4 separate regions of the Homo sapiens genome follow, and regions 1, 2 and 4 are each linked to region 3. The links are contacts of gene promoters, found by promoter capture Hi-C in blood cells and fetal thymus (Javierre and others, 2016). All regions are on one chromosome and are shown on one strand. The core of a region is centred on a gene start or on the middle of the fragment in contact, and the rest is flanking DNA. Distances in the headings are between cores, read along the strand shown.

Region 1 (6,186 bases), core at 3,687-6,186, 240 kb before region 3:
GTGCCAGAGCTTGTGTGGGGAGGAACTGGAAGTTGGTCTTGGACAGTCCATCTCCAGAGCCCAAGCTGCTGCTACCTTTTATTCCCAAGGTTACTCTCTAGTCCTTGCAACAAACTGCCGTGGTACCTATTTCCATTACAGGTGAGGAAACTGAGGTTCAGGGTGGTTAAGGTCACACAGCTGATCAGTGCCTGCAAAGCCCAGAGCTTTCCCACACACCCTACTGCTCTAGCCAGCCTGCAGGCCTGGGAGGTGACACTGGACCCAGGAAAGAATATGCTGAGGGGCCTGTGAGCAGATGTTTGGGATTAGAACATAAAAACTCAAAATTGGGCGGGCCACGGTGGCTCATGCCTGTAATCCCAGTATTTTGGGAGGCCGAGGCGGGAGGATCACGAGGTCAAGAGATCAAGACCATCCTGTCCAACATGGTGAAACACAGTCTCTATTAAAAATACAAAAATTAGCCGGGTGTGGTGGTGCACACCTGTAGTCCCAGCTACTCAGGAGGCTGAGACAGGAGAATCGCTTGAACCGGGAGGCGAAGGTTGCAGTGAGCTGAGATCGTGCCACTGCACTCCAGCCTGGCGACAGAGAGAGACTCTGTCTCAAAAAACAAACAAACAAACAAACAAACAAACAAAACACCTCAAAATCCCTGGAGGGTCTGGTGTGAACACAAGCCATGGTCCTGGGTTTAAGATACACTCAGACATTGTCCTGTCTGTGAACTCCTTATCACCAGAGGACTGGATCTTATGCCTGGAAGCCTGGATGGAAAATGTTCTTCCCAAAGAATGTCAGAGGAATGACTCACTGCTGTGCCCATGTCACACCTGAAGCATTTGAGAGTCATCAATCCCCTGAGGGGCTGGCAGGAAAAAGGGCTCCTAGACATAACCACTGGGACCATCACTCCAAGCTTTGAATTTGGGGAGGACTGCTTGAGCCTGGGAGGTCGAGGCTTCAGTGAGCCATGATCTTGCCACTACACTCCAGCCTGGGTGACAGAGTGAGACCCTATCTGAAACAAACAAACAAACAAACAAACAAAACCACGTGGCAGGAGGAAGGCTCTCAGGGCAGAAAGATGAGAGCTGTGCCTGTGGGTTGTTTCTCCTGCTTACTCCCTCTCGCCCATTTTCCCTAGAAATCATCTCTGATTCTCACAGAATAGAAGTGTTCTTAGCAGCACCTGGGCAGGACCTGCCAGCACCTTCAGCTAAAGTACAGTTAGCACCAGATTATGGATAGTGATTAGCGGGTATGAGGTCATTCTCTGGAATATCCCAAGGTGCTCTTTTGTGATAAGCCCACTTGACAACAGCTCGCCTTCTGAGTGTTTTTATTATTTGCACTCTCCAATCTGCTGACCAAGGCTGCCCTCTGGCTCACCGTCATCTAGGACCCCCACACAGGCAGGGAAGGGGAAAGGGAGTAGGGGGTGGATGGGGATAAACAAGGCGTGGCAGAACCACGAGATGGGGTTGTGAGCAGCCATTTAAAATCATGTTTTTGGCTACTATTTGATTACATAAGGAAAAGCTTATGAGATCATTTAAATTATCACATACATCCAGTCAAATGACGGGAGGGAACATACCAACATGTTAACCATGATTATCTCTGAGTGGTCCAATTAATGGTGATGCGTCTTTTTCATGTCCCTCTTTATTTTCTCGTCTGTTTTAAATGATATCTTTCTTACAAGAGAATAAATGCAGGCTGGGCATGGTGGCTCATGCCTGAAATCTTGGCACTTTTGGAGGCCGAGGCAGGGGGATTGCTTAAGGCCAGGAGTTCAAGGCTGCATTTAGGTATGATGATGCTGCATTCAACCTGGGCAATAGAGCAAGACCCCACCTCAAAAAAAAAAGAAGAAGAAGAAGAAAGAAGAAGAGGAAGAAGAAGAAGAAGAAGAAGAAGAAGAAGAGGAAGAAGAGGAAGAAGAGGAAGAAGAAAAGAAGAGGAAGAAGAGGAAGAAGAGGAAGAAGAGGAAGAAGAGGAAGAAGAAGAAGAAGAAGAAGAAGAAGAAGAAGAAGAAGAAGAAGAAGAAGAAGAAGAAGAAGAAGAAGAAGAAGAAGAAGAAGAAGAAGAAGAAGAAAAGAAGAAGAAATGTAAAGTAAAGGTAATGTCTAAATGAATGTGACCTTGGGAGCCAGACAGACCTGGTTTAAATACCAGCCCCACAATGTGCTAATGGGTGAACCTGACTTTCTTCATCTATGAAATGGGGCTGATCATATGCACTTCCCTGGGCTGAATAGGCTTAAAAGGGATCATCACACAATTCCTATTTTATGCTGTTGGCTGTCCCTTACACGGCATGTGTTCTCCCCCTGATGGAAGGGCCCAGCTTGGCACTGTGGGGGTGTGATGGGGGCCAATTCACCTCCAGTTCCTCTCTACTGAGGCTGGTTACAGGAGAGAAGGGTTGCATTGGAAGCCCGTTGCTGATTGAAATCAAAACTTGTGAAAGCTCTGAGTTGCTTGCTTCCTCATTGGTTCCACTTGAGGAAGAAGTTGCAGGAGGTGCCAGGTACAGTGGCTCACACCCATAATCCCAACACTTTGGGAGGCCAAGGTGGGAGGATCACTTGAGTCCAGGCGTTTGACACCAGCCTGAGCAACAGAGTGAGACTCCCCAATCTCTATAAATAAATAAATAAATAAATAAAAGATTAGCCAGATGTGGTGGCATGCGCCTGTAGTCCCAGCTACTCAGGAGCTCAAACAGGAGGATTGCTTGAGCCTGGCAGGTCGAGGCTGCAGTGAGCTGAGATCACACCACTGCACTCCAGCCAGGGTAACAGAGTGAGAACCTGTTTCAAAATAAATAAATAAATAAAGTTGCAGGAGGAAGGCTCTCAGGGCAGAACGATGAGAGTTGCGCACGTGGTCACTTCTCCCACTTACTCTCCTCTCGCCCATCTTCCCCAGAAATCATTTCTGATTCTCACAGAAGTCTACTGTACACTTCCTGGGGAATCCAGGCATCTTTTCTTCCTTTAAATAACAGTTTTATTGAGGTATAATTAACATACCATAAGTCCACCCATTTTCATCACCCCAAAAGAAACCCCTTCCCCATTAGCCATCACTACCCATGGCCTCCACACCCAGGCCTACCCAATCATGAATCTACTTTCTGCCTCTACAGATTGGCCTATTCTGGAAATTTCTTTTTTTCTTTTTCCTTTTTTTTTTTTTTTTTTGAGACGGAACCTCACTGTGTCATCCAGGCTGGAGTGCAGTGGCACGATCTTGGCTCACTGCAACCTCCACCTGCCAGGCTCAACCAATTCTTGTGCCTCAGCCAACCAAGTAGCTGGGATTACAGGTGCATGCCACTACACTCGGCTAATTTTTAGTAGAGACGGGGTTTCGCCATGTTGGCCAGGCTGGTCACGAACTCCTGGCCTCAAGTGATCTGCCCACCTTGGCATCCCAAAGTGCTGGGATTACAGGCATGAGCCACTGCACCCTGGCCCGATATTTCATATTTAAATGGAATCATTAGCAGTTTCTTGTGTCTGGCTTCTTTCACTTAGTCTAATGTTTTCAAGATTCATCCGTGTTGTAGCAGGTGTCAGTACTTTTTTTGATTGCCAAATAATATCCCAAATATGGTACATTTCCTTTGTCCGTTCACCAACTGGTGGACATTAGGCATCTTTTTTTGGCTTTAATATATCATCTGTAATGCTAGCTGTGATCTGTTCAACCCACCACATGCCAAGCACTCGACCTAATTTGTAATCCTTACAACAGCCCAGAGAGGCATGTCTATTTCTCCCACCATACTGACAAAGAAGTGGTCCATCCAAAGTCACAGAGCTGACAAAGTAAGTGACAGAGCTGAGATTTCCAGAAGGGTTTTTTTCCACTGCACCACACTGCACCTCCCCCACCCCCATGTGTTTTTCTGGCTCCTTCTAATTGGTTCTGAGGCCAAAACAAGAATCCACTCATTCAACGATCATTCATTCAACAAGAATTAGCTGGTACCATGTGGATGGTAAGCACAGATTAATTAGAGCCAGGCGAGAACAGACCTTGCCTCCTGGAGTATGCTGCCCAGGCAAGGGGTGGGAGGGTCATGATGTGGAGGCAAATGCCAGTCACCAGGAAGGGTGTGACCAAGTGCCAGGGACTCAGACATGCTGGAAAGCCTGAGTAATGATTTTTGGAGAAGATGACATTTTGAGCAGGATCCCAGCAGACCAGATGGATTTCACAAGCTGAGGCAGGGTGAGCCACCCACGCAGAGGAACTGGTGCACACACAGACCCAGAGACTGGGAATCTTGGTCCACAGGGGTGGGCTCTGCCCCGCTGTTGGTAGGAGGTAAAGAGGGAAGGGGAGAGGTTGAGATCACACTAGTGACAGCCTTGAATGCCAGGCTAGCATCTGGATTTTTGTCCTGTGGACAGTGGGGAGCTGCTGAAAGCTTTTGAGCAGGGTAACAAGACCAAATCCATCCATTAGATTTAAACGCTGCTAATAGACACCACTAGAACTTTGGTGTCCGCCCTCAGACCCAGGCTCCTGGCCCCTGGAAATTACACCCCGACATCCACAGGAAGAAGGAAGAGCTGGGTTTCAGACCCTTCTGCATCTTTATAGCCCCAGCACCCAGGACAGGGCCTGACACGTGGCAGGTGCTCAATAAACATTTGTTGAATGAATGGATGGATGAACCTGCCTGCCACCCCCTGCCTTCCACCCCCATCCCCCTGCCTCCCACTGTTCTTTCCTAGTCCCTCTCCTAGCAAGGTGGGAATGAGACAGCAGGTGTGCCCCAGATTCTCCCATCCCACCCACCTGCCATCTCTCCTCCTGCACCCTCAACTTCTCCCTCTTTGCCCCCGTCCTCCCCAAGGGTCATGAGTAAACACAGGAGCAAACCCTCATGTGCTCCTACCATGTGCTAGGCAGTTGCAATGACTTTACATTCTCACAATCGCCATCAGAGATAGAAATGATTAACTGCACTTTGCAGGTGGGGAACTAGTGACTCAGAGTGGTTAAGGGGCTTGCCCAGCTGCTGAGGGGCAGAATTGAAACTCAAACTAGGAATTTCTGATTCCATCCAGCGCTTCTAGCTGGGGGTGTGTAGTGAGGAGTAGGGTTCTGCTAAAGTTAGTTAAGGATGTGGAGAGGAAGAGGAAGCAGAGGGGTTCCTGGGGGAGGAAGTCTCTGGGCCCACATCCCAGGACCAGCGGGGTGAATCATAGTCAGGGTTCCTGCCCCACCTCTGGGTCCAGCTGCCACACTAGATGTGTAGCCAGATTCCCTACCCTCTCATGCCAGGGTAGGGCCTCCTCAGAAACATACACATACACACAAACACACACACACACACACACACAGCCCCGGCCCAAAGCCTAGAGAGATGGAAACAGTAGTTGCCTTAGACACAGAAGCTTTATTTTTCTATAAAATTATTCCCGAGAGAAATTTTCTTTTAAATGCCCAAAGTAAATAACTTATATCCCTTCTTGAAAACATCCCCAAAGATAGTCTGTCAGAAATCCTTCGGTCAAGCAGGTCAGCTGGCTCCCATGGCCCTTGGGGTGGCCTGACTCTGTCACTATTCCTAAAACCTTCTAGGACATCTGCTCCAGGAAGAACTTTCAACACCAAAATTCATCTCAATTTTACAGATGGGAAAAGTGATTCTGAGACCAGACCAGGGTCAGGCCAAGGTCATCCAGCATCAGTGGCTGGGCTGAGACTGGGCCCAGGGAACCCTGTCTGCTCCTCTTTTTCCCAGAGCTGTGAGTTCTCTAGCCAAGGCTGCACTCTTGAGGGAGAGCCAGGAAGCATAGCTGAGGCCATGACAACCTCACTCTTCACCTGAAAATTTAACCCGTGGCAGAGGATCCAGGCACATATAGGCTTCGGAGCCAAACAGGCCTAAAGAAATAGTTGACACACTTCCTCCCCCAGGTCATCTCCCCTGGAGTCAAGGGTCTGCCAAGGCTAAGTGCAAGGAGACACTTCTGTTTTGAAATAAAGAAGTTCCACATGCCTTTGCTTTGAGTCTGTGTGATATCAATCTGCTTGGCAACTGAGATTCTTTTCTTGCTGCGCAGACGTCCTTGTGTGTCTTTATTTTGTGTGTGTGTGTGTGTGTGTGTGTGTTTTGCTGGGATAGGCAAAGTCTTTTGGGACACGAGGTCC
Region 2 (6,375 bases), core at 1,435-3,934, 220 kb before region 3:
TAACTCCTCCTCACTCTGTGACCTTGGGCAAGGCGCTGTCCTTCTCTGGGCCTCAGGAGCCTTTTCTATAAAAAGAAATGATCGGACTGATCTAGCTCAGAGTGCTATGATTTCAGGACTACAGTCCCAAGGTTATCAGGCTCCCTTAGCATTTGGGGGTCTTGTAAGGCATGGAGTAAAAAAAAAAAAGCAATATCCTAAGGCTGGAGAAGAGGGAGGGGACAAAGGAAGGGGAGGAAAGGGGAGGTAGCAGGGAGCCAAGGACCAAGAAGGACTGAGGTACAGTCATTCTGCATCCAAAGGCTTAAATTGTAAGGGACTGGCTTTACTCTGGCTGTTTCCGGAAAGGCAGGCCCAGCCAGCCCTCCCGTCTCTCTCTCTGACAGCCAATCTCACATGTGCCTCCCTGGGAGCACCTGCTCTGAGCTGTATCAGCCCCCAGCAGGCCGCTGATTACCACTGAGCCTGGCCACAGAGCACGAGATTAGGATGCAGCAACACACTGTGTGTGAGATCACGTCCCGAACCTTCTGACTCATCTGCACAGGAAACCCCCCCAGTCTCCCCTCCAGTCAGAAGGGACCTGAAATTCCACCAGTGGCAATACCAAAGAAACTTCCTATTAGCTAAGCCCCTAGGGAGTGATTGGCTGTTGGGGCGGGGAGGGGGGGCGGTGAGGAGGATGAGGATGAAGCCTGGGCAACCTGGATGTGAGGCTGTGCAGGGGATGAGGACAAGGATCCTTGGGGTGAAGGAAGAGAAGAGCAATTTTAGGTTTTGCTAATTTTGTAACCCTGGCTCCAAGCCAGCCCTTACAGGAAGTCACCCTGGCCTCCGGCTCAATTCAGCACGTGATAGGGAAGCCACATTTATGCAGAGCAGGGAACGAGGTAAGGAAATGGAAGTGGGGCTGTGGTGAAGTGGGCAAGTCTAGAGAGAGTCCCGCTGCCTGGGGCTGTTCCTAACAGCTGCTGGGAGCGAGCTGCAGGTGTGGTGCCTGGCAGGGTGGCCGGGCTGTCTGACTCTGGATTTCACTCCAAGCTAGGCTGCTGCCTGAAGGATTCCTCTTACCCACCTTTGCCTGGGCTGGCCTTTGGGACTTACATGGCTATGAGGCGTGCCACGGTGGTCTTGAACCGGTCAAAGATGTAGCCAGTGGGGAATGTCATGAAGTTGTTCATGAAGGACCCCAGGGTGAAGATGAGTGAGAACCTCTCATCCTGGGCTTTGCAGTCTGGAGTAGAAAAAAGGTCTCCCATGCATCCCAGCCTTCCTGCCAAATGAGCACACAGGCTGGGCTCCCCTCCACCTCAGACAGCTTGTCGGTCGCAAACTTGTCCCTTAAGCTGAGTTGAAATGTGGCTGCCCCTAATTACCCCTCAGGAGCTGGTGCCTCCCTCCCAGGCACTTCCCAGATCAAGTGGGGTGAGAGCTGCTGACCCTTCCTCTCATCATAGAAAGAGGGGTGGGCAGGGGGCAGAGTCCTTCCTGCTCCTTGCCACCACGTGGGAGCCAGACTTAACTTCCTTAGAAAAGTCATCCCTGCCCTTACCAGCCTGCCCTGTGGCATTGCCAATCGGCCCAGCATCTGGTCCACACAGATCCTTAAAGTAATCTTCATTCTTGAAGACAAACACTAGTGAAGGCCAGCCAAAGAGGACGCCAGCAAAGCCCAGGCATTCCAGCAGCCCAGTCAGCAGTGTGGCCACGTGCAGGGGCAGGCCCTGGCCCGCCATGAGCAGAAGTGGAGTGGATCTTCAAATCCCACTTTGTCCTCCTGGACGGATCACAGGCGCCGTAAGCCTGGCGTTTGAGCACTTGGAAAATTCCTCTGGCAAGCCAAGCCCTTCCTTTCCCGTAGCTCTCTGGTTGTTTCAGGCCTGGGCAAAAACCATCAGCGGGTGATTCTCTGGATCCTGTAGAATAAAGATAGAGGCTGCTGGAAGAGGAGGCCTGCGGGAAAGGGAAAGGTAGACTAGAGTTATTTGTGAGGTGCATTAAGAGGCAGGATGATCATGGCCGCTGGCAGCAAATGTGGGGAATAAATACTCCAATACATCATCTTAGGCACTGCATTTGAGTAACCACGTGGCAAGTAGAGAGGCAGGTCTTGATGGCCACCTGGAGTCACAGGTGAGATAAACGACTTACCCAATAGCTCCCCGGGAGCAGGTGGAGAAGCGGAGCTCCTGCGCTCGAATTCTGAATACCGTCCCCTAAAATAATGACAGCAACTCAACCAGGTGCAGAGGCAGGGAGATTTCATACAGAAGACACAAACTCCCGCTGCCAAGTTGGTGTTATCTTCAGTTTACTGACAATGAAACAAAAGCTCCCATGGATTTCAGGAACTTGCCCAAGGTCACAGGGCTAGTTTAGTCACGACGCAGGCCATTCTACTGCCAGAAATACCCCCAACTCCCATGACCCTCGCCTAGGACTCGCAAACCTGGTCCCCGCCGCCCTTCCTCGCATCAACTTCTACCAGGAAAGCCTCCGGGGGCCGCTCCCCGCCAGCCTCCGCACCCCGCTCCAGCCTGCGGCCTGCCCTCCCCGCAGAGGAGCCCGAGGGGCCAGGCCGCGCTCGGCGCCCCATGGCGCCCGAAAGGGGACCCTTCGCCCTACCCGCCTGCTCCGCGCCGGGGCTCTCCGCGCCCTTTCCGCACGGGCCAGGTTCGCATTCGCGCCTCTCGCAGCCCCTCCCAGTCCCCTGCTCGCCTCCGCCCCCTCCTGCCCGCCCGGAAGGGGCTGGGGCAGACCTCCCACTCTCCATCACTTCCTTCTTCTTTTCCCTTGCTCACAGCCTCCCGCGCCCTTTTTACCTCTCCCTCTTGAAACTTCTCCCTCTAGAACCCCCTAGAACCCCAGCGGTGTCTTTCCCTCCCTCCTCGCTGCCTTTCAGCCTCCCAGCCCCCTTGCCTCTGCCTCCCCTAACCAAGTTAGTTGAATGCTGTTACTCGCTCAGGCCCACCTAGGGAAAATGTCACACCCAGCACCCAGAGGACACACAGACAGCACATGAGGGCATAGGGACACACACACTCTATTTGTGCATTTTGCCTTGACCGCTGGGTTGGCAGGGAACATATTTTTCCTATTTGCTCACCAGCTTAACCGTCTCTCCCAGTTTCACACTCCCAGAGCTGCCAAAAAAATCCCAACCACAGAATCAGGAAGCCAAGAACCAGGACTGAGGGCTTTTCAGAAACCATCCCCTGGAGGACTGCCCCATATTTTCACTCCCAAAAACCCCTTAGATGACTCCCTGCCTCACCCCCGCCCCCCAGGTTCTGAAAGAGCCTTCCCGCCAGACTGCATTGATTAACCATTCATTGCCCCATTTTTTATTAATCAAAGACATATATAATTGCTCATCGGAGCTTGTGATCAGCGTGAGGCCTTACTAAGCAGCTGCCTTACTATCCTTCCAGCCCAGAGCACGTGAGCTGACGTCTTCTTTGGCCTGTGTGGCCGTTTCCTTGCCAAAAGCTCAGTTTGGGGAGAGCTTCTTGCGTATTAGATGCAGTCTGCAGACTCCCAACCCCAGCTACCTGGATCCCCTGAGGGCCCAGGAACTCCAGCTATTCCAAGCCCACTCCTCTTTTTTTTAAGAGGAAGAAATAGAGGTTACGATAGGGGACAGCCAGAACTGAGGATTTTCCAGCTCACCACCAAAGCACAAAAGATAAAAGTCTGCAACCACCCTAGTGACTTGACTGAATGGAGGAAGGGTGGCTGGGGTCCTGTACCCCAAGCTACTCACTAGTTATACAACCTGAGGCAAGCTCTTTGGCTGCCCCACCTGTAAGACGAGGACAATAGTACCTTAATTATAGGAATTGTCATAAAAGAAGTATAAGATGGGTGTATGAGGTCCCTGCATGGCGCAGGTGCTATAGGCAGATTGTAGGGTAGTAGATTTTCTAGTCTGCAGTTATGTAGACAGAGCCAGAGAAGCAGCTCTGGGGAGGAATTTCAAAGGAACTTGCCCACGGTCATTCTACAAAGCTGCAGTACCTTCCCAACTCTGAAACGTATGCTCTCATCACCCCGTCTTAACAAACATTTGGACATTAGAGAAAACAAGTCTTTTCTTAAAATAACATTATTTATGGGAGAAAATCCACAAAAATATAGCATCCCAGGACAAACAGGGCTTAAGATGCAAGATTTTCTATTTTACTGCAAGACACAAAGACTCTGAAATTAATGCATGCCCTATCTTCTGCTCTGGCATACATTTTAGTCTCCTGGGGGGATCAGTAAGTGTGGAAGTAGCAAGGGAGAAACAGAAAAAAGTCAAAGTAAAGAGACAGATTTTAGAATGTTAATCTGCAGGAGCCTGCCAGAAAGATCTAGCTCATGGGCTATCTGTACATCCAGGACTGAAGCACGGGACACGGGGCAGGTCGTCCAGGGTTCTGTCCACCTTATCTTGTTACCTCTCTTGACTCTTAGAGCCTCCACTCCACATCTCCCATCAATGTCTGCAGAAGACGTGGCCTCCACTAACACAAGTCTTACTGAACTGATGGGACAGGAAATTAGAATATCCTCTGAACCATTCCCATGTTCTTTGGTTCGAATTCCAGCAGCTAGAAAAGGCAGATGCTATTCTGATCACTCTCCTGCGTGGCTCCAATGAGGATTAATGAGTAACATCAGAGAGAGAAGTGATTATAATAAGGTCTGACGGTGCACCCGATGTCTTCATCCTTTTCTCTTCGCCTCCTTCCTCATCATCTCACACCTTTTTTTTTTTAATTGACTGATTGGTTCAACAAATACATGTGGTACCTCAGGCTCTGTGCCAAGTGCCGGGATTCGTAGAGAAGAGATTCAGTGCCTGCTCTCAAGGGGCTCATTCTCTTGTGGGAGAGACAGACAAAGAAACCCAAGATTTCTGGAGTGTGGGAATGGTCTTCCAGGCAGATGCTAGCACAGCACATTGAAAGGCACGGAACCTCAACAAAACAATAACATTTAGGAACCAGCTAGAGCACAGGGTGGTGAAGAAAGTGGAAAGATTTGAGGCCAGCGTCGCCATCTAAGTGAGGGCATTAAGAATTCAGCCCACATCAATCAATCATGTCCTATTGATTTCACCCCTTAATATCTCTCCTATCTATCCGTGGCCACTGCTCTATGCAGACACTCATCATCTCTCACAGAGGCATCATCTGCTTCCAAGCCATCGCCATTCTCCTGCAAGAGTTTATTTCCATGGTTCCCACTGGATGGCTTCACTTAACTGCTCAAAACCCTTCTGAGGTCCAGTCAACTGGCTGGTAAGGACCAGTCCAGGGTCTGGGGATGCCAGCCATGAGACATTGCTTTGAGGGGAAGAGGGAGCATAGAACTGGATCTCCTGCATCCTACTGCCCAAGTACCAATGCTGGAGGTGGTTTTCCTTCCCATCATCAGCAAGTCTGGATATCCAGGATCCACCCTATGGATGTTTTTATGGACAGAGTGGGAAGATGGATATGTTTAGGTTAGGGAAAGAGGGTTTGCCAAAGAGGGCAGTATAAGTGAGCTGCACTCCATCATTCCCCTGGCACAAACAATGGCTAGTATCCTCTAGTCCTCAAGAGCACCACCTTCCAATGCAGTCCCTGCCTGTCCACAGACCTCTCTCCTCAAACTTCCTCTGAACAACCTCAGCGAGGGCAATTGCCACTCTCTGGGCAGAGTCCAGATATTCTCTCCTACCCTCTGACATCACTTTCTAAATTTGTATATGTAGATAAACTCTGAGCCATTCACATAAAGGGCTTTGATTTCGGATACGCCAAACACATAAACAAACAAACATAAGCTTTCCTTTCACAATGGGCTCATGTAAATTAAAATGTTTGGTTTTCCACCTACGGTCTTGAAAGGGGTTTCTACAGCCTGTTTTGGAAGTCAGAAAGCAAAAGGTAAATGCAAACATCATTTCACCTGCAGAGAAAATTCTAATCCTCTTGAGGCAGTGCCAAAAATAATACAAGCACACTGCTATCGAGCCAATTACTGGTATCTCTGAGCTTCCGTCTCCTCATCTATAAAATTGGAATCGAGCTGTATGGATTAAAGATAATGTATGAAAACTGCCCAATTAGTACACTATTAATAAATAGCAGCTACTGTTGTTAACAAATATTATTGACTTACTGGAAAACAAAGAGGAAATAAAGTCACATTTAGGGAGAATTTCAAAGTGTTCCTAACCTAAAAAAGAAATAAATTAGGGGGAAAACCACTAAGTAATGGGTGAGCTCAGTTTACCTTGCTTAAGAAGTCCCACCCTAGAGAACTGATCTCTAGATGACACCCAAATGCACTCAGTACAACCCCCCAAGACTGTCTGGGCTTAAGGCAGGGGCTTGGATT
Region 3 (6,053 bases), core at 449-2,948:
TTTTTAACAGCTGTGCTTTGGGGCACAAGGCAGAAAATGTTTCTTTCTACCTTCTCCCAGGGGCAGGGACAAACAGCAGTGACTCTGTGGGTGACTGAAGATGAAGTAATTGCTGGGTTCTGATTAGGAATAGAGGAAGATTGCCTTCTGCCCACGCGCCAGCCTCCGAGTGGCTGAAGGTGCTGGAGGCAGAGGATAAGAAGGGAGGTGGCCCCTGTTGGCTCCGATAAGCAGGTGAGCTGCTGCTTTCTCCTTCATAGGGCTTCCCAGCCCACTGTGGGTGGTTAGCCTAAGTCTGGTTCAGAGATGCCAGCTGGGCACTCTGGCAATGCTAGAGCACTAAGCAGAGAAGAGGCAGTGTTGGCTCTGGTTAGCCAGGGCATACAGGCTCTCCTCGTCCTGTCCTCCGCAGTGGCCACAGGCACCCAGCTGTTCCACTCTCTCTGAAGGCCGCCAGGCAGTCTCTCCGCAAAACCTCCATAGAGACTATCTTCAGTTTCAGGTCCTCTCCTCCGGGCTGGGTCCCAGGAAGACACCTTGGGCTGAGTTCAGGGTGACATTGGGCTCCGGCTGCAGGAAACGGGCCCTCCTTGCCAAGAGACCACCTTTCAGTCTCTGCTTCACAGGTTTGCCTTCAACTTTGCCAGCGAGTTCCCCTCTGACATGCACCACCTTGAAACACCTTCTTCAAGGGGCATGGAGAATGGGGCAGCTTGGGTCCCCAATCCTGAGCTCCTTCTCCAGCCTCCGGCCGTCACGCCTCCCTCCCTCTCCCCTAATTCCCAGTCAAGCCAAGGAAAGGCTGCACAGAAGGCCAGAGAATCACAAAGGGGAGTAGGGGTCATTTTTTCACCCATCTCGGATCACAGGGAGAAGCAAGTTGGGCAAATGACTGGAGAAAAAACAAAGGCAAGCCGAGTGCTGGGGAGAGATGTTCCCCTGAAGTGAGACGGGGCTGGACCGTAGGAGAAAGGGGAGAGGGAGGGCTGGCGGGGGCAACTGACAGCTGACAGCAGAGGCGCCGAGGCGGAGGCTGGAGGAACCAGGTGCGAATCTCGTGCTTCTCAGGGGGGAAAAGAAAAGGGGGGGGACACCTGCTCACAATGGATTTTCTCATCTGCTCTGAGGTTTTGGCACCCCCCAGGCTGGTATTCTCAGTATGGTATGGTCCAAATAATTAGCAGCACCGCCAGCTCCCAGGGCAGGCTTTGGGGGTCTGCACCAGCAGCAAAACAATAAACAGTGATGCCTGATGCTGCAGCCAAAGTTGCCGGGAAATAAGTGCGGGAATCGTCAGAGCTTGGAGAGGGATGGAGGAACCGAGAGAGAGGAGCGGAGGCAGCGGGGAGGGGGAAGGGAGGACAAAGGGTGGATGAATAATGCTTTTGCAAAGGGGAGAAAGCAACACGCAGCAGGAGGAGGAAATTTGCAAAGAGAAAAAAATTCATTTGGAGAAGGGCTGCCCCCTCACCTTGAGGTCTGCTCCAGAGATCTCCGTCTATCTCTCTCTCTCTCTCTCAATCTCTCAATCTCTCTGCTCACTCTTCTCTCTTCTCTTTCCGCTCCTTCAATTGGGAAGGGGATGGGGGTGGGTGGGGGGAGGGTAGTTGGGGGCTCAAGACTGGGGCTGCAAAGCTGGCCAGCTGCTGGGGGGGCAGAGGTTGTCTCTCGTTCTGTACCTCGGTCTGTGGGTGAATGTGGCTGTGTGTTGTGGAACTGCATCATAACACTGTGAGTCATCCATCCCCCCCACCCCCCCTCACCTCCCACGTCAGAGCAGGGCTGGGAGACACAGGAGGCGGGTCGGAAGGAAGGGAGGGGGTAGGCATCAAGGGACGGGGCTAGAGGAGTGGGGGCCGAGGGACAAGGCGGCGATGGTGGGCAAGGGGAGAGGCAGGTTGTTAAGGAGGAAGGCAGTGGGGCCAAGGAGATACGAAGAACCTGGGGGAAGGACAGGGCTGGGCAAGGATGCAGTGAGGGTGGCAGGGCTGGAGGAAAGGAGGTGGCAAGGCTGGTGAAGGAAGAGATGGATGCAGAGTGAGGGAGCACACACACATTTAAGATGATACACTTTCCCATTTCAGCTTGGACACCAGCCCTGAAGCAGGGAAAAGACAGATGTACTAATTGTCATGGATGGCAAACTGTGCCCCCAAACTTGTACCAAGCCTCAAAGCCTTGGTTTAATACTCCTGAAGGAGTAATAGACCCAATGTGACATTTTGCATGCAGGAACCCCTTAACAGCTACCTCCATATTATGCGTGCTTCATGAATGGAGACACCTACGTTATATGAAGTTCTCTATTGGGCTGTAAACTTCCTGAGACAGGCCTTCTGGGAAATTACTCTCTACATCCCAGGACTGCAATGTCCAGTGCAGACCCGTGCATTTAGATGTTTCCAAAATAGCAGTTGTTTCCGCGGCATTATGTTCTGCTGGCCTAGAGGTCTTAGTTCCAGAGGGAGGAATGCTGCCACCAAGAGACACAACAATGATTCCATTAAACTGGAAGTTAAGATTGCCACCTGGCCACTTTGGGCTCTTCTTACTTTTAAGCCAACTTGCTAAGAAGGGAGTTACAGTGTTTGACCCAGACTATCAAGATGAAATCAGTCTACTACTCCACAATGGCGGTAAGGAAGTATGCGTGGAATACAGGAGATCACGTAGGGCGTCTCTTAATATTACCATGCCCTGTGATTAAGGTCAATGGGAAACTGCAACAGCCCAATCCAGGCAGGATGACAAATGGCCCAGACCCTTCAGGAATGAAGGTTTGGGTCACTCCACCAGGTAAAAAAAACATAATCTGCTGAGGTGCTTGCTGAAGGCAAACGGAATTCAGAATGGGTAGTCAAAGAAGGTAGTCATCAATACGAACTATGACCATGTGACCAGCTGCAGAAAATGAGGACTGTAATTGTCATGAGTATTTCCTCCTCCTTTTGTTAGGAACATGTTTGTGCATATATACACTTGTATTAAGAAAATATCTTCATTTTATTTCCTTTCTTTTGCCTTTATCATGTGACATAAGACTTACTGACTTGATATCAGCACTTAAGTGTTGTTAACTCTATGTAATAGCATTTGGGTTGGGGATTGGTGCGTTTCCGGTTGTACAAAGGATAGCTGTATTATGTTAAGCGTAATTATGACCTTATTATTGTCTTTATTTGAAGATCATGTATGATTTCAGGAGACGTGTATGGGTTCAAGTTGACAAGGGGTGGACTGGTGATGGTTAATATTGTCAACTAGATTGGATTGAAAGATGCAAAGTATTGTTCCTGGGTGTGTCTGTGAGGGTATTGCCAAAGGCGATTAACATTTGAGTCAATGGACTAGGAAAGGCAGACCCACCTCAATCTGGATGGGCACAATGTAATCAACTGTCAGCTAGGCCAGAATAAAAGCAGACAGAAGAACGTGGAAAGACCAGACTGGTTTAGCCTCTGAGCCTACGTCTTTCTCCCATGCTGGACGCTTCCTGCCCTCGAATATTGAACTCCAAGGTCTTCAACTTTGGGATTCGGACTGGCTTCCTTGCCCCTCAGCTTGCAGGCAGCCTACTGTGGGACCTCATCTGGTGATCATCTGAGTCAATATTCCGTAATAACTCTGATTTATATATACATCTATCCTATTAGTTCTATCCCGCTAGAGAACTCTGATTAATAGAGCAGTTGAGTTGCATCTTCAGACATGAACCAAGTGTCTGGCTTTGGTCTCAAAGAGACTGAATTAGACTCTTAGCTCTGCCAATTACTTGGCAGGAACCACTAGGCAAATTACTGATAATCTTTGTGCCTTAGTCTTACTCTTCTGCTAAATGAAGCTAATAATATTTATTATTATTAGCTCATGGAGATGCAGAATAAAGTGAGATAACATTTAAATGCCTGAAAAATGCCTGGCACATGATAGGCAGTAAACAGTAGTGTCATTTCAAAACAACATTCTCGCCAGGTGCGGTGGTTCACGCCTGTAATCCCAGCACTTTGGGAGGCCGAGGCAGGCAGATCACAAGGTCAGGAGATCGAGACCATCCTGGCCAACATGGTGAAATCCCCATCCCTAATAAATAACAAAAATTAGCTGGACATGGTGGCACGTGCCTGTAATCCCAGCTACTCGAGAGCCTGAGGCAGGAGAATCGCTTGAACAGGAAGTCAGAGGTTGCGGTAAGCTGAGATGGCGCCACTGTACTCACAGAGGTTGCAGTGAGCCGATCGCGCCAGCCTGGTGACAGAGCGAGACTCTGTTTCAAAAAAAAAAAAAGCATTCTTGGCTGGGTGAGGTGGCTCACACCTTGTAATCCCAGCACTTTGGGAGGCCGAGGTAGGCGAATCACCTGAGGTTGGGAGTTCGAGACCAGCCTGGACAACGTGGTGAAACCCCCCTCTCTACTAAAAATACAAAAAATTAGCCAGGTGTGATGGCGTATGCCTGTAATCACAGCTACTTGGGAGGCTGAGGCAGAAGAATCGCTTGAACCCAGGAGGCGGAGGTTGCAGTGAGCCAAGATGGGACCACTGCACTCTAGCCTGGGCAACAAAGAGAGACTCCGTCTCAAAAAAAAAAACAAAACCAAAAAAACAAAAGTGAAACCAAAACAGCATTCTCAATGTATGACCCCCAAAACCCAGGGAGGATTTATTATTAAATTCTGATATCTCAAGAGACACATGCCAAATTTTTGTCTTATGAAGACATTACATCTTTTGTTGCTATTTTTCTAGCAGCTTCCAGTTAAATTTCATTTGACTCAGAATTCATTTCTCATGGGGTGCTGTCCTGTGCATGTTACTAAAGTATGTGAACACAGAACATATCCCCTAAGACAAAAACCCTGATTTCTAACAGAGTCTAGCATTTAGCAAATGAAGTACGACAAAGATAGGGACTTCTAGAAAGCAGTGCTTGGGGGTGGTTTGTTTTTCTTCTCACACGTAAAGAGGGAAAAAAAAGTTAAGGCAGAGAAATGTGGGTAATGGGAGACATTGCTAGTTGAGCATGAAAATAAAAAGGGATTCTAAATATTTAATCAGGGAAGATTCTGGGGTTTAAAGTAAATTCTGAAAAGACAATGTGGGTGTCTTGAGGGATAGTACTAGAGATTTGGAATTGAGAGAAAAAGCTAGGTAAAGAAAGAAGAGAGAAGTGCTTTTGTTTGGGCAGCAGAAGAGAGGGGAGATAAAAGTAGAACACATGGACACAGGAAGGGGAACATCACGCACTGGGGCCTGTTGAGGGGTGGGGGGAGGGGAGAGGGATAGCATTAGGAGATATACCTAATGCTAAATGACGAGTTAATGGGTGCAGTACACCAATATGGCACATGTATACATATGTAACAAACCTGCACGTTGTGCACCACATGTACCCTAAAACTTAAAGTATAATAATAATAAAATTTAAAAAAAAAAGAAAAAAAAAGATTTTGAAAAGCAATTGTTGAGGAGAACAATGAGAAGTGGGAAAAGGCAAATGATTAGTTTTCAAGGCATGGATCGAAAGTTCTTTTGTTTTGTTTGTTTGTTTGTTTGTTCTTTGAAATGGAATCTCGCTCTGTTTCCCAGGCTGGAGTGCAATGCCATGATCGAGAATCACTGCAACCTCCGGCTCCCGGGTTCAAGTGATTCTCCCACCTCAGCTTCCTGAGTAGCTGGGATTACAGGCATGTGCCACCATGCCTGGCTAATTTTTGTATTTTTCGTAGAGACGGGATTTCACCATGTTGGTCATGCCGGTCTCGAACTCCTGATCTCAAGTGATCCACCCACCCTGGCCTCCCAAGGTGCTGGGATTACAGGCGTGAGTCACTGGGCCCAGCTCGGATTCAAAGTTTGGAAGCAGGCCGGACACCTGTAATCCCAGCACTTTGGGAGGCTGAGGCGGGCAGATGACCCTGAGGTCAGGGGTTCAAGACCATCCTGGCTAACATGACAAAACTCCTTCTCTACTAAACATACAAAAATTAGCTGGGCATGGCAGCGGGCGCCTGTAATCTCAGCTACTTGGGAGGCTGAGGCGGGAGAATTGCTTGA
Region 4 (6,606 bases), core at 2,929-5,428, 200 kb before region 3:
CTGTAATCCCAGCTACTCAGGAGGCTGAGGCAGGAGAATCTCTTGAACCTGGGAGGTGGAGGTTGCATTTAGCCCAGATTGCACCATTGCACTCCAGCCTGGGTCAAAGAGCAAAATTCCATTTCAAAAAAAAAATGCAAAGAAACTAGCCATGCATGGTGGCGGGTGCCTATAATCCCAGCTACTTGGGAGGCTGAGGCAGGAGAATCGCTTGAACCCAGGAGACAGAGCTTGCCGTGAGCCAAGATCATGCCATTGCACTCCAGCCTGGGCAACAAGAGTGAAACTCCATTTCAAAAAAATAAAAAATAAATAAAATAAAAACAATGTACACTTAGACTACACTAAGTTTATACAAAGATATTTTTCTTTGTTCGATAAAAAAATTAACCCTAGCTTACTTAGCTTTTTTACTTTATAAACTTTTAAATTTTTAAAAACTTTTGACTGTTTTGTAATAACACTTGGCTTGAAATACAAACATTGAACAGCTACACAAAAATATTTTCTTTCTTTATATCCTTATTCTTTAAGATTTTTTTTTCTTTTGAGACAGGGTTTCACTCTGTCACCCAAGCTGGAGTGCAGTGGCACAATCACTGCTCACTGCAGCCTCAACCACCTGGGGTCAAGTGATCCTCCCACCTCAGCCCCTCGATTAGCTGGAACTATAGCCGCATGCCACCACACCCGGCTAATTTTTGTATTTTTTGTAGAGATGGGGTTTCACCATGTTGCCCAGGCTGGTCTTGAACTCCTGAGCTCAAGCAATCCACCCACCTTGGCCTCCCCGAATGGTGGGATTACAGGTGTGAGCCATTGTTCCTGGGCAGCTTTTTTCTATTTAAAAATTTTTGTATTTTATTTTAACTTTTTAAACTTTCTTGTTAAAAGCAAAGACACAAACACACACATTAGCCTAGGCCTACACTGGGTCCTATCATCAATATCACTGTCTTCCACTTCCACACTAGAAGGTTTTCAGGGACAATAATATGCACGGAGCTGTCATCTCCTATGATAACAATGTCTTCTGGAATATCTGTTGAAGGACCTGCCCGAGGCTGTTTGACAGTTAGCTTTTTTTTATAAGTATAAGGCGTACACTCTAAAATAATTATAAATAGGCCATGCGTGGTGGCTCACGCCTGTAATCCCAGCACTTTGGGAAGCCGAGGCGGGGTGATCACTTGAGGTCAGTAGTTCAAGACCAGCCTGGCCAACATGGTGAAACCCCATCTCTACTAAAAATACAAAACATATTAGCAGGGTGTCATGGTGCACACCTGTAATCCCAGCTACTCAGGAGACTGAGGCAGGAGAATCACTTGAACCCAGGAAGCGGAGGTTGCGGTGAGCCAAGATCGCGCCACTGCACTCCAGCCTGGGTGACAGAATGAGACTCTGTCTCAAAAATAAAATAAAGATAAATAATATAGTAAATATATAAACCAGTAATATAGTTATGTATTATCATTATCAGATATTATGTACTATATATAACTGTATGTGCTATTCTTTTATATCACTGGCAGTGCAGTAGGTGTGTTTACACCAGCATTGCCACAAACATATAACTAATGCATTGCGCTACAACATCAGGACCACTACACCATAGACAATAGGAATGTTTCAGCTCCATTATAATCTTATGGGACTACCACTGTATATGTGGTCTGTCCTTGACCAAAATGTCATTATGGGGCACTTAACTGTATTAAAGGAAAACAAAACTTAAGCTTAACCAATCAGAAACAGCCAACAAACTTAAAATTATAGAACTAGGAACTTTCAAATGGAATAGACCAAATAAGGCAACTGTATAACTGTAACCAATCAAATAACGTTTCGAGCCAGGGTCTCACTCTGTTGACCAGGCTGGAGTGCAGTGGCAAAATCACAGCTCACTGCAGCCTTGACCTTCTGCAAGTCAAGTGATCCTCCCACCTTGGCCTCCCAAAGTTTTATTAGTTGTGAGTCATTGTGCCCAGCCCAAATAATTTCTTTATCATGCTTCCACATTTCCGTCGTAAATACTGGTCTCTGACGCTTTGTCATCTGAGCGGTCTCACCACTGCTCTATCCTGTCCTTATGCATCACCCCATACCAGCTCCCTTACTCTCATAACTGCCTTATGAACTATGTGTTATCCCCGTTCTAGAAATAAGGAAATAAAGTCCTAGAGAGGTGAAAGAACTTGGGCTCAGTGAAGCCATTGAAATACGTCATGACTGAAAAACTACCTCTGAAACTACCCCAATTCGTGGATTGCTTAAAAAAGAAAACTTAAACTCTATAAAATTTTATTGTGCCTCAGATTTTTCTCTAACAACATGCACACTCCCTCATAACAATATGAGGGCAGGGACCTTTAGTCACTTATTCAGCAACTGTGGGTGGAGTGACTGTTGTATGCCAGGGACTAAGCCAGGGGCTGCAGACACCACACTAAATAAAAAGGCAAAAATTTCTATTCTCATGGAGTTTACATTCTAGTAGAGGAAGACAGACAATACACAGTAAGCCTAGTAAATAAATAACTTATGTAGTATGTTAGGAGGTCTTGAGTGCTATGGGGAAGAAAAAGTAGAGCTGAGTGGGCCAGGTGGAGGAGTAGAGTATGGAGGTCAGGGAGGCCTCATTGAAAAGGGAAACTGGCTGGGCGCCGTGGCTCACGCCTGTAATCCCAGCACTGTGGGAGGCCGAAGCGGGCGGATCACAAGGTCAGGAGTTCAAGACCAGCCTGGCCAATATGGTGAAACCCAGTCTCTACTAAAAACACAAAAATTAGCCGGGCATGGTGGCAGGCGCCTGTAGTCCCAGCTACTCGGGAGGCTGAGGCAGGAGAATCGCTTGAACCCAGGAGGCAGAGGTTGCAGTGAGCTGAGATCGCACCACTGCACTCCAGCCTGGGTAACAGAGTGAGACTCTGTCTCAAAAAAAAAAAAAGAAAGAAAGAAAGAAAAGAAAAAAAACGAAAGAGAAAAGAAAAGGGGAATTATGAGCAAAACCTTTAAGAAACCAAGGACTTGGCAGAGATCTGCCTGGTCCCTGCTAGATCTCCAGCCCCTGGCCCCGTGCTCAGCACCCAGTAGTTGTTTCATAAATTATTAAACAGATGAGCCAGGAGCAGTGGCTCATGCCTACAATCCCAGCATTTTGGGAGGCAAAGGCAGGCATATTGCTTGAGTTCAGGAATTCCAGACTAGCATGGGCATCATGACGAAACCCCATCTCTACAAAAAATGCAAAAATTAACTGAGCGTGGTGGCATGCACCTTTAGTTCTAGCTACTTGGGAGGCTGAGGTAGGAGGATCACTTGAGCATGGGAGGGTCACTTGAGCCTGGGAGGTTGAGGCTGCCATGAGCCATGATCAAACCACTGCACTCCAGTCTGGGTGACAGAGTGAGACTGTCTTAAAATAAAATTTAAAAAAAATCAAAAACCAGATGAATAGGTAGATAAATGGATGGACAGTCTTTCTTTTTCTACATTTGATGTCCAACCAAGACACTGTGACCTGGACCTAGGGATATGGGATAGACATTGTGTTTTGTATCTCCCAAAATGTCTCTTTCCTACTTCCCACTGTTCAGAATAATGTAGCTTGGAGTTTGATCTCATCTGCAGAGCTGCCCTGATGAGCCCAAGACAATCATGACAGTATCACACTCCTTGCCCAAGACTGGCTCAGGAACCCTGACTTAAGACAATCAGTGTATATTACCTTCCTGGTGACAGTCATTGGCTTCAGGTGGGTGGACCTAAGCAATCCCAGACAGAAAGGAAACTCTTTCATTCCATGACTGGGGAAGGGCCACTTTCTACTTCTGAAGATGAACAGGGAGGCAGGCAGCGTCTGCTGGCCCAGCAGCCAACTTGTAATCAAGACAAGAACAATCTGGCTTAGGATGAAGCTGGCCCTGCAGACAGAGGTGCCGAGACAGAAAGAACCTGGGTCTTTGATGACATCGTTAAGCCCTGGATCAACCAACCTTGGAGTCCCCTACCTCTGGGCTTGCTGCTGCCTGAGATGGATAATATAATAGATCTTCTTACTGTTTAAGCCAGTTAGAGCTGGGTTTTCTTTCTTTTTTTTTTTTTCGTTTGAGATGGAGTCTCGCTCTGTTGCCCAGGCTGGAGTGCAGTGGTGCGATCTCGGCTCACTGCAAACTCCACCTCCCGGTTTCAAGTGATTCTCGTGCCTCAGCCTCCTGAGTAGCTCAGATTACAGGCACACACCACCACGCCCAGCTAATTTTGTATTTTTAGTAGAGGTGGGGTTTCACCACGTTGGTCAGGCTGGTCTTGAACTCCTGACCTCGTGATCCACCTGCCTCAGCCTCCCAAAGTGCTGGGATTATAGGCATGACCCACCGCGCCCGGCCAGGGCTGGGTTTTCTATAACTTGCACTCTCCAAATATTGTAACTGATGAGGGACATTCCTTCCACTCCCACTGTGTGCTGATTTGATAAGTGTCACCCTCGCAGGTCAACTTTTCGCTTTTTGAGTGGTCTCACCATTGCTCTATCCTGTCCTTATGCACCACCCGGTACCAGCTCCCTTAATCTCACAACCACCTTAGAAAATATGTGTTATCCCTCTTCTAGAAACAAGGAAATAAAGTCCTAGAGAGGCGAGGGAACTTGGGCTCAGTGAAGCCACTGAAATATATCTTGACTGAAAAACTATCTCTGAAACCATCACCAACTACTGGTCAGAGAAAGGAGAAGATAACATCTTCTACTGAAAAAAGAAAAAGAGAGGGAGTACCTAGGTCCCAAAGGTGTGTGGAAGCGGCATTCAGACCTTGACATCTTAAGCTCTCCCACCTGGGTCCACTGATGCTGAGCCTGGATGTATTAGGCTGTTCTTGCATCGCTGTAGAGAAATACCTGAGACTGGGTAATTTATCAAGAAAATAAGCCTCCTGGCTGGGCACGGTGTCTCACGCCTGTAATCCCAGTACTTTGGGAGGCTGAGGTGGGTGGATCACCTGAGGTTGGGAGTTCTAGACCAGCCTGGCCAACATGGCGAAACCCTGTCTCTACTAAAAATACAAAAATTAGCCAGGTGTGGTGCGGGCGCCTGTAATCCCAGCTACTCGGGAGGCTGAGGCAGGAGAAATGCTTGAACCTGGGAGGCAGAGGTTGCAGTAAGCCGAGATTGTACCACTGCACTCCAGCCTGGGCAACAGAGCCAGACTCCATCTCAAAAAAAAAAAGAAGAAAGAGAGAGAGACAGAGAGAGAGTCAGAGAGAGAAGAAGAAGAAAAAGAAGGAGGAGGAGGAGAAGAAAGAAGAAAGAAAAAAGAAAGAAAGAAGGAAAAGAAAAGACAAGAAGGAAGGGAAAGAGAGAAAGAGAAAGGAAGAAACAAAGAGAAAGAAAGGAAGAAAAGAAAGGAAGGAAGGGAAAGAAAGAAAGAGAAAAGAAAGAAAGAAGGAAAAGAAAAGAAGGAAGGGAAAGAGAGAGAGAAAGAGAAAGAAAGAAGAAAAAGAAGGAAGGGAAAGAGAGAAAGAGAGAAAGAAAGAAAGAGAAAGAAAGAGAAAAAGAAAGAGAAAGAAAGAAGGAAAGAAAGAAAGAAAGAAAGAAAGAAAGAAAGAAAGAAAGAAAGAAAGAAAGAAGGAAAGAAAGAAAGAAAGAAAAAGCAAGCAAGCAAGCAAGCAAGCCTCCTACCCATTAACGGAGTGCCTAGCGGGGCTGATGTGGTCATGTCGGTGAGAGGCAACACTGGGAGAAGTTAGAATTCTCCATGATCTCTGTTACTCATATTCCCAAACCTCTCAAATTAGCCTGAGGCTCATGGTTCTGCAGGCTATACAGAAAGCATGGCGCCAGCATCTGCTCAGCTTCTGGGAGGCCTCAGGAAGTTTTACTCATGGCAGAAGGTGAAGCAGGAGTAGGCGTGTCACATGGCCAGAGCCGAAGCAGAAGAGCAAAAGAGAGTTGGTGGACAGAGGTGCCACACACCCTTTTTTTTTTTTTTTTTTGAGACGGAGTTTGGCTCTTGTTGCCCAAGCTGGAGTGCAGTGGTGCGATATCTCAGCTCACTGCAACCTCCGCCTCCCGGGTTCAAGCGATTCTTCTGCCTCCACCTCCCAAGTAGCTGGGATTTCAGGCATGCGCCACCACGTCCGGCTAATTTTTGTATTTTTGGTAGAGACAGGGTTTTGCCATGTTGGCCAAGCTGGTCTCAAACTCCCGACCTCAGGTGATCCACCCGCCTCGGCCTCCCAAAGTGCTGGGATTACAGGCATGAGCCACCATGCCAGGCCCCACACACCTTTTAAACAACCAGATTTCATCCATCGGGAAGTGCCTGTGGGGCTGGTGTGGACATGTGGGTGAAGGTGGCACTGGGAGAAGTTAGGATTCTCCATGACCTCTGTTACTCATATTCCCACACTCCTCAAATTAGCCTGAGTCTCGAGGACAGTCTGATGGCTGGGCAAACCCTGCGGCAAACCATTCCCCAGCCCTGCCCTCTCAACCAGAGTCCTTCCGATACATGATTCTGGGCAGCTGTTGTTACCCGTGTCCTCCATGTTCTTCCAGAGATATCCATGCATGCATTGGCATATGTGTATAATTATTATATCTA

Evidence for each region. Contacts are between HindIII fragments. The CHiCAGO score rates a contact against its expected background, and 5 or more counts as called.
Region 1: a fragment that was not itself captured here is called in contact with the fragment with the promoter of YPEL4 in region 3 in 2 of 17 cell types (M0 macrophages and activated CD4 T cells); the score reaches 6.2 in M0 macrophages.
Region 2: the fragment with the promoter of SLC43A3 here is called in contact with the fragment with the promoter of YPEL4 in region 3 in 9 of 17 cell types (monocytes, activated CD4 T cells, neutrophils and 6 more); the score reaches 9.8 in monocytes.
Region 4: a fragment that was not itself captured here is called in contact with the fragment with the promoter of YPEL4 in region 3 in 6 of 17 cell types (neutrophils, activated CD4 T cells, M2 macrophages and 3 more); the score reaches 11.0 in neutrophils.

Annotation. Positions count from the first base shown.
Region 1 is chr11:57,401,546-57,407,731 of GRCh38, forward strand. SLC43A3 (solute carrier family 43 member 3) reads right to left here. Exons shown (of 14, transcript NM_199329.3): 14 at 5,409-6,186. Among named protein-coding and RNA genes, the nearest start is that of PRG2, 14 kb to the left of the region's middle. The HindIII fragment of the contact is 976 bases long and covers 4,449-5,424 here.
Region 2 is chr11:57,424,437-57,430,811 of GRCh38, forward strand. It overlaps SLC43A3 (solute carrier family 43 member 3), which reads right to left and starts at 2,685. Exons shown (of 14, transcript NM_199329.3): 1 at 2,626-2,685; 2 at 2,152-2,216; 3 at 1,553-1,916; 4 at 1,105-1,234. The coding sequence starts at 1,736. RefSeq lists enhancers at 617-1,409, 1,102-2,301, 1,410-2,202 and a silencer at 2,445-2,804. The HindIII fragment of the contact is 9,438 bases long and covers 1-5,816 here.
Region 3 is chr11:57,648,214-57,654,266 of GRCh38, forward strand. It overlaps YPEL4 (yippee like 4), which reads right to left and starts at 1,699. Exons shown (of 5, transcript NM_145008.3): 1 at 1,472-1,699. It overlaps MIR130AHG (MIR130A host gene), which reads left to right. Exons shown (of 2, transcript NR_186232.1): 2 at 2,085-4,688. RefSeq lists an enhancer at 71-210. The HindIII fragment of the contact is 14,007 bases long and covers 1-6,053 here.
Region 4 is chr11:57,442,562-57,449,167 of GRCh38, forward strand. No RefSeq gene overlaps it. Among named protein-coding and RNA genes, the nearest start is that of RTN4RL2, 15 kb to the right of the region's middle. The HindIII fragment of the contact is 4,883 bases long and covers 1,738-6,606 here.